Regions from separate parts of the Homo sapiens genome. Here region 2 is linked to region 1. Evidence: promoter capture Hi-C in human tissues and cell types (Jung and others, 2019). All regions are on one chromosome and are shown on one strand. The core of a region is centred on a gene start or on the middle of the fragment in contact, and the rest is flanking DNA. Distances in the headings are between cores, read along the strand shown. Region 1 holds the start of LRP1B (LDL receptor related protein 1B). Region 2 overlaps LRP1B (LDL receptor related protein 1B).

What was found. Contacts are between HindIII fragments. The study calls those that stand out against the background at their distance.
Region 2: a fragment that was not itself captured here is called in contact with the fragment with the promoter of LRP1B in region 1 in 1 of the 25 tissues and cell types used here (hippocampus).

The regions. Positions count from the first base shown.
Region 1 is chr2:142,129,118-142,133,481 of GRCh38, reverse strand. LRP1B (LDL receptor related protein 1B) reads left to right here and starts at 2,466. Exons shown (of 91, transcript NM_018557.3): 1 at 2,466-2,834. The coding sequence starts at 2,753. RefSeq lists an enhancer at 1,399-2,598. The HindIII fragment of the contact is 3,160 bases long and covers 387-3,546 here.
Region 2 is chr2:141,758,510-141,762,873 of GRCh38, reverse strand. All of the region lies in intron 2 of LRP1B (LDL receptor related protein 1B), which reads left to right. It overlaps LOC107985779 (a long non-coding RNA gene), which reads right to left. Exons shown (of 4, transcript XR_007087247.1): 4 at 25-298. Among named protein-coding and RNA genes, the nearest start is that of LRP1B, 370 kb to the left of the region's middle. The HindIII fragment of the contact is 6,492 bases long and covers 1-4,364 here.

The sequences.
Region 1 (4,364 bases), core at 1,217-3,716:
GATTTTTTTCCACTCAATGAAATAAAAAAGTCAACCAGATGATCTAAAAAGATCATATGGTTTTTACTCTGGCTAATTCATTTAACAGGCTATTAGGAGGCTCTACGTATTTGGAATGTTGTATATTTAGAATACAAAATCTCCTGAGTATTTGCTACTCTTATGATCTTTCCTAGCTTTTCCCTTTTCCAAGCTGACCATGGAATCTAGGGCTGCTGCACGTACTACAGAAGTGAATGAGTTAGTGATTTTTAATCATAGCATTGGGGCACTTTAGTATGTGGTAAAAGTCTTTGGTGGGTCATACTGTTCCTGGCTGCTTTCCTTTACTTTGCAGTGAAGTGGAGGGCGATTGGTGGTAATCTTTCAGAAGAGGAAGAATCTGGATGTCCTTAGTATGGTTTGTAAGCACTCCTCATTTTCTTGCCAAGAGTTAAGTGGATACAGATCTCCTAATAGCTGACCTTCTAGTTGACTGAATGGGATCATGTAAGAAAGACACCTGCTACGTTGTCCCAGTGAATAAGTTTGTCATACAATACAGAGGTCTGTGGACCCTCGAGAAAGAAACATTTATTACTTGGCACATCATTCAAATCTCTCTCTGTCTCTCTCTCTCTCTCTCTCACACACACACACACACGCGCGCACACACACATATTCTTTAAACTCTGCCACTCATTTCAAAGTTTGTGAATTTTCAGTATGAAGTAAAATATGTAAAAAAATCTTTTTATTCTATATTGTACACTATATTATGAAATAATAAAAACATCTAGGAAAAATTAGACATGTAACAACTTTAGAAGAAAAGAAGCATACACTTCTCTACTAAAAGTACAAAAAAATTAGCCGGGCATGGTCGTGGGCGCCTGTAGTCCTAGCTACTCCGGAGGCTGAGGCAGGAGAATGGCGTGAACCCGGGAGGTGGAGCTTGCAGTGGGCCGAGATCGCGCCACTGCAATCCAGCCTGGGCAACAGAGAGAGACTCCGTCTCAAAAAAAAAAAAAAAAATTAAGCATACACTTTTGAATGTAGGAGTCATATTTCAAACACAAAATGGTTGTATTTTCAAGGGAAAGTAAACTTTATAATTTAAAACATGGAAAAAGTGACATAAAATACATTTATAATCACAGAGTAAGAATAAAAAGGTGAAATCCACAGATTATTGACAATGTTCTGCAAAGTCATCTCTGTGTTCTTTCATCTAGTCCAGTTTTTAATGGCTTCAAAGGAGCATCTAAAGATATTTCTGGATAATTTTACTCTCATAAATAGGTAGATAGTAATGCTGGCATTCACTTATAAGTCTCAAACAGCAAAGTAAATAAAGCTTTTAAAGCATCTTCCTTCACTTTTCAATCGTTCTCTTCCTTAGTTCTGTTCCCTTCTCATAGTTTTCCTCTCCACTCATGTCCAGTTTCAAAATATTAAATATAAAACCTTTTCAACTCTTGTTCTTAGAAGAGAATTCCTGATGTTACAAGGAAGAAAGTAAGTCTACAACTATTAAGATTTCTGAGTTTTAATTCCGTAGCCACTTTGTAATGGCAAACTAAAATTTTAGGGACTGGGATGATCATGTTGTAAACTTAAGTGGTCATAAAAACAACTTTACTAATATTATTATTCCAGTGATTCCCGTTGATGCCTCCGATGGCTCGGGAAAGTTCTTACACCGCCCCTGTAGTATATGGAAAAGGAAAACAAAACAAAACACAAAACAAAAACAACAAAACCCTCAAAGCCTGTTTAAAATGGCTCGAAGTACCCTTTTAAAGACAGAACCCCAGAGAAAAACGCTGCCAATTCGTTGCTTTATTGTTCCCTGCCTGGGGACCTCAATAGCCTTTTCCATTAACCTTCCCTTCTTACGCAACGGTTAATGACTTTGGGGGTTGTTTTGCTTTCTGTTTCTGCTGAGTCACTAAATTTTGCCTCTTTGTCCCCAGGTGCTGCTCAGCATAAAAGTTAAAAGTGCAATTCAGGAAGTACTGGGATTCTGTGTAGAGCCGAGGAAACCATTTCCCTAAGAGAAGCTCTGTTCCTTGGCTTGTCCTTCCTTCCCGGGAAGGAAGCTTCCGAGGAACGAAGGGAGAAGCTTTGTTTTGCCTGCAGAAGCAGCCCTGTGCTCGGCTGAGGGTTCTCAGCTGGCTGTGAACTGCGGAGCATTGTAGGCGCCTGGCTGGCTCAGGCCAATGCAGAAGTCTCTCCCTTCTCCAAAGACCCAAATCCCCACAGAACCAGCTTCGAGTTACTTTCCCTTCAAGGGGATTAAAATAATTGTGATTTGTGGCGCTCTCCGTTCGCGGTGGTATTTTCCTGTTGTGTTAAATGCCTCTTATTAAGTAATAGATGTGATTTATGTGAACGACGAAGGGGTGTGTGGTGGATTCGGTGATTAATCAGTGAATTCCCATCCGCTGGCATCTCTCACTGCCCCTCTTGCGTGATGTAAGATCAGACGTACCCTGCATTGAAAAGTCAAGACACACGGGCGTCTCGCTCGCGCTCACACACGCTCTGCCTCCTCTCTCCCGCACGCGCGCATCCCTCCACCTTCCACATCCTGCTCCAGGCAGGAGAAGGCTGACTGGCTGGACTCATTGAGCTGAAGAATTTCCAGTGACATTTGTAAATGACGCCGCTCGATTCCAGGCTCCAAGCGGCCCCTGCCGCCGCCGCCGCCGCCGGGCCGAAGGTGCCGCCGAGCAGTCTCCAGCGCAGGCTTCCTTACCGGGCGACCACAATGTCCGAGTTTCTCCTCGCCTTACTCACTCTCTCGGGATTATTGCCGATTGCCAGGGTGCTGACCGTGGGAGCCGACCGAGGTAAGGAGAACACCTCCCCGCTCCCCTCCCCTGACTTCCTTGGCTTTCCTGCTGGGCGATGCTTGCAGATAAGTGAGTGTGAAACTTAAGTCCTTGCAGCTCCGCTCCCCGGGACCGGGTGACCACCGTGCGCTGGCCCTGTGCGGGGGTGAGAGGTGCGGTGCGGGATTTCTGAACCAAGTGCCTGAGTCCTCGGCACCCCCACAGCTTTTCCCTTTGGCCGTTTCCCGGTCCCCATTTTGTCCCCTCCGGGAGTGTGTGCACTTGGCTGTGCGCTTCTGTCCGCGAATTCTAAGCGCTGCAGATGTTGGAATGAGAATTCGCATTTCCGAAAGACTTCCCTCCGCGATGGCCCTCAACTGCGAGCTTTTGCGAGCTCCAGGTTCTCCGCGTTAAGCGTGTCCGCCCTCAACTTAGCTCCCAGGTTAACTTCCTTACCTGCTGCATTCGAGGTCCGTGGAGCGGCGAAAGCGCCGATTCAGGCCCCTTTCGTTTCTATAGCCCCTTCCTGGGGGCAGACTGGGGTCAGAGTCCTGTCATCAGCAGAGAGGCTTTTAGGACGATTCCGGGCGCACGCACCTGCTTGAAATTGACTTTTCGATTATGAGGGTCTGTGACACAGCCCAGGTGCTCTGAGGGGCTAACCCACCCCTGGAGTGCCTCTCTCCAGTCTGGCGCTTTGCTTTTCCTTTTTCTCCAAGCAGCTGGTGAATGGTAGAAGTTTAGAAGGGAATGGATATGGGGAGCAGAGGAGAAAGGAGGTAGGAATTAGAAAAAGCCGGGATTCTATAAACTTTTCATCTGGAAAATCAAGAATCCCTGTGCGAGTTTAATAATCTTTGACAACAGATGCACTGGTGAAAAAGGGAGGAAAATACTAGATGAATATTTGGGGCACTGGCCCTGGCCTTGGAATGGTTAACTGGTTAAAGTAAAATCAGAAGTATCATAGATTTTTTTAAAATCAGAAAATGAGCTTATATTGACTGGTATAGTTCAGCTTTTTAGTTTAAATAAGAGAGAGAGAGAGAGAGAGAGAGAGAGAGAGAGAGAGAGAGAGAGAAAGAGAGAAAGAAACCCAGATCCCAATGCCAAGCAAATAGGCAGAATGTTGCATTGGGAGATTTAGTTATTGTATTTACATGAAGCAGATTATGAATTGACAAAAAATATTGCTTCATTATAGGAAAGAACAGGGGAATGAACTGCAGTGTTTCTATTCAACCTGCTGTTGGCAGCCAGATTCTAGCCTTTGTAACATACCTACACGTGTTATTTCCTCTACCAGTGGTGGGACTAATCTGAGTTCCTTTAGGAAATCTGACACTTATTGGTGATAATCTTTTAAGCATATCATTGCCACCTAACCATAGCTTCTGAACTTGCTCAACTTGCCTTGAAGTTGGTGTGGAATGGTTGGAAACTATACTGATGAAATGGAAGCACATAGCTCGCCTTGAAATGATGATGTCTTTGATCTGGAACAATCAGCTCTCAACCTTTCTTAGGAAAAATGTTTGAAGTTGGACC
Region 2 (4,364 bases), core at 1,370-3,869, 370 kb after region 1:
GTAACTAAATTCCTGTGAAGCCTATCTCAGTTACAAATAAATCCATTTACTAACTTTTAAATATTTTTCTCTATATATGTCCCATTAGCTGAATTTCTAGAGAAGAGAACTTAAAGAAAAACACTATAGTCACGCAAGTAATGACCCTTCTTATCCTCAACCCCCAGCATATATGCACAAGGACAAACAGTATACATACAATCTCACCTGAGAGACGTCCTCAGACTTGTGTTGAAACCTTATCATGCTGCATTATCTCCCTTACAACATCCTTCCTGCCTTGTTTCTCATTTTCACACTATACGGAGTAAAAAAATATACAATTTCTATATATTATATATATAACCTCCATATATTTTATACTATTTCATATTTTTATACTATCAGATTAATGTTTTATATTTTATCTATCATTTTAAATATGCTATGTAAAGCATCTACAAAATTGGTCACCATTCCTATGGGAAGTATCTGCAGAACTCTAGAAATGAATTCATCTTTTGCTTACCCCTCCCTTTTTGAGGGGACAGGGACTTTCTTCTTTTCCCTCATCTTCATCTTCTCCCGTGGCATCATCCATTATGCATCATTCATTTTTTTTCCCTGCTCCCTATGGTCTTTGCTTATTGAAATACTCAACAGTGGCCAATTTATTGGAATTGAAAGGCTGCTAAAATACATCATCTCACAGAGAAAATGTCATTTATTTTTCCTACTTTTTTCTCTCATAGTGTCAGCTTCACCCAATCAGTGGATAACCAAATTATTTTTAACTAAATATAAAAGAAAAAAAAAAGACAATAACCATAAAGAAAACACCTTGATTAAAGCATTTTAGACATGAAGAAAAGATTGCTGTGAAAATCTTCTTTTCAGAGAGTTTGATTTTATGACCTTAGAATACAGATGATAGCCATGATTTCCAGTCTGTGTACCATGGAATCCTGGAGCACTGAGCAAACTCATGAGATACTCTGGGATATTTTAAATGTTGAAGGAAAACATAGCAATACTAGACAGATGTCATACACAGTGCAAACTACTAGCTTGAGGTAGTTCACAGTTTCAATATTAGATTGGCCTGCATATTCCTTTTGATGATATCTTATCTTTTTGAAGCTGGGTTTTTGGCATTTTTTTATGACAAAAAGCACAGGCTGCCTGAAAATGTGGCTTAGGAATAAAGTGATGCATTCAGTCAGATTCCAAGGATTGAGATGCTGTTCAGTGTCCAACAGGTATGCAAATAAAAATAAAATTTAAAAGTAAAATAAATTTTTAAGTATTGGTGGCTGCCTCTAAATTTCTAATAGCACATCTCAAGCTTTTCCTTTGTATCATTATTTTGTCATTATTTTTAAGCAAATTTTTAATTGTGGAAGAAATTAAAATTTTTTTCTTATAGTGTATTTGTGTTATTTTTCAAATGATTTCTATGTTGCTTGATATAAATATTTATTAAGTTATTTGTACTTCTACATAATAAACTAGACTTCAATGTATTTTTTTTTTTTGACTTAGGATTGCTGAGGGAAAATTCCTGAGGCATTAAATAAAGGATATATGAACAAAGAGTTTTGGAACCTCTGGGCAATGTACTGCAATTTCTTCCCAAACACACTGACCAGATTTAATGGAAAAAAAATAGTTTTCACTCAGGTGCCAGAAATTGGATCAACTGATAATAGATAAGCAATCTCTTTTTACAGAAACACAAATATCACTGAACTTAATGAAGAGTGTTTCCTAACAATGAGGTTAACCATCTTGTATTCCTATGCAATATTTCAGCATTATAAAACGTACATGCTCATGTTACAGATTTCAGGATCACTCAGTCTGTCAACCCCATACTCCGTAAATAAAATAATAAAAGAACAGAGGTGCTAAACAGAAAATGTGCCCACAAATATAGCTAACTTAAACATTTTTAGGGTAATTGAAAGATGTTTTGCTAAAGTAAAGTGGGGAGAGTAATAATTTTCTAAAAGTTGGGATAATCTTTCTTATGTGATAAATGGTGTGTAAAGGCCATGAAAGCACCATGTTACAAGTGACTCTAATATGTTAGCCATCGTCTGTAAGAATCTTCACAGTTTTGTGCACTGTGTTGATTTTCTTTGAGTGTCCTTATTTTTGCTTCCAATATAAATCCATCACGTAGTGTTCTTGTATGAAACAATGAATACAAAATATTTCTGAAATTGAAAACTCTGTAACAATCCATGACCCAACCTTAAAAAGATTTTGCTTTCTTTTGTTAAGTGTATAGTCCAGTAAAATATACATCTTTATTGTTGTATATAAGTTGCACTAAATATATGCTGTCTCAATGCTCTTTTAAAATAACATTTTGTTGAGCAGCTTGTTTTACATACCATAAAATAATAAATTTCTTTAAATATTTTGAACAAATATGTTTTTGTTTGAGAAAATAAAGGTCACTCGTAATCACCCATCTGTAAATTAACATTAATAACTTATGAATACATCTATTATGACATTTTCACACAAACATAAGATGAATCCTAATGAAGATGTGTTTTTTTACTTAACAATGACTTATGAGCATTTCACATCATTTTTCATATCGTCTTAGTATTCCATCAAATGGTTGTACCATCACTTATTTTACTCACAACTTATGGATGAAGACTGGGTTTCTTTCCAGTTTTGGTTATCAATTTCATAATGAACATTACAAGAGATGTATTTTTGCATTAACACATGATAGTTTTTGAAACAATTCTGAAAAGTAGAACTACTACATCAAACGGAAGTAAATTTCCACAAGTAGTGATAGATGTTGCCAACTTGACATTGAGGCAGTGGTTCTCCTGCCTCAGCCTCCCGAGTAGCTGGGATTATAGACGCACGCAACCACGCCCGGCTAATTTTTGTATTTTAGTAGAGACAGGTTACGCCATGTTGGCCAGGCTGCTCTCAAACTCCTGACCTCAGGTGATCTACCCGCCTCGGCCTACCAAAGTGCTGGGATTACAGGTGCCTCGCCAATATTCAAGTATATTTTTCCATTGCTTTTGACATGTAATGTGGCTGCCTCTAAAGTTCTCAGACAATGTCTCCCCCTCAAAGATCTAAACATCTTTCTCAATTGTAGTCTCAATAATATTTTAAAAGACCATCCATTATATTTTCTTCCACCTTGTTGATTTGCTTGTTTATTTTTTCTATCTAGAGATAAACAGTTTTCTTTCTCCTGATACTTCCCATGGTACGTCTAAGACTGGTTATCTGTTCAATGATTTAGCGTATAACATGTTAGGCTCTTTTAATCACAGATTTATTTTGGTAAAGTTTTGATAAATATTCTTCTATTATATCTTTGAATATTTCCACTTTCTAATATGCTTAATCATTTCTTTAAAAATGCTAATGATCCACAAGTTGCATTCCCTATCCCTATATTTCATAGCTGTCATCTATCATCTACTTCCTCAATTTATTTTTCATCTTACCACTCTTGACTCTGCATTCTAATAGCACATCTCAAGGTTTTCCTTTGTATCGTTATTTTGTCATTATGCAATATAATAAATGTTGCCCTTCTATCAGGGCAAATGAGTTCTATCATTCTGCAAATGAGTTTAGAGCTTCCTTGTATTCTTTGTAATTTTATTCTTACTACTTTCCATCTGTTCATATGAACTTTTTATCTCAGTCTCTTTTTATGTCATGGCTTTCTGTGGTCCAAAAGTCTATAGTCTATAGATTCTTTCATTCTACTGGGGATTGAAAACATTTTTCAGAGGACTTTATTTTTTGTCATTTTTTAGAGTGATGATACATTTCTTTGAATGACTTTTGCATTTTTTTCCCAAAGCCTTCTCCTTTTATTTTTATCAACGTGTTTAAAAATCATGATTTGGCTTTCCACAACAGAGGATTGTCTTAAATCTTACTATTTGAACATTTGATTCATGAAAATATACTTTGGTTTTCTAGATTGAAATTTGAAGGACAGAATAATTTTATCAGCACTCCTTTACAATTAATTAACTAAGGAGTATTTAGTACTTTTCTTCAAAATATTTTAAATGAGACACTTTTTAATGATCACATAGAAATAAAAGGAAAGTATAACTGAATAAAAACAAAAGTTAAACATCAAATAAAACAAAAATTTACTTTGCACTAGAGTATAAATTTCCTAATGGCAAGAGTTTTCCTTTTTGTCCCATTTTTATATATCCTGTGCCTAGTAGAGTTATCTAGATTGTAACAAGCAATCAATACTCTAAGTAAATACATACCTTGTTAAATCATTATTGAGTTTTGTTCAAGATTTTGTTTAGTGATTACCTATTAATTTCCTATGTTTTATCCCATTCTTTATGTATTAT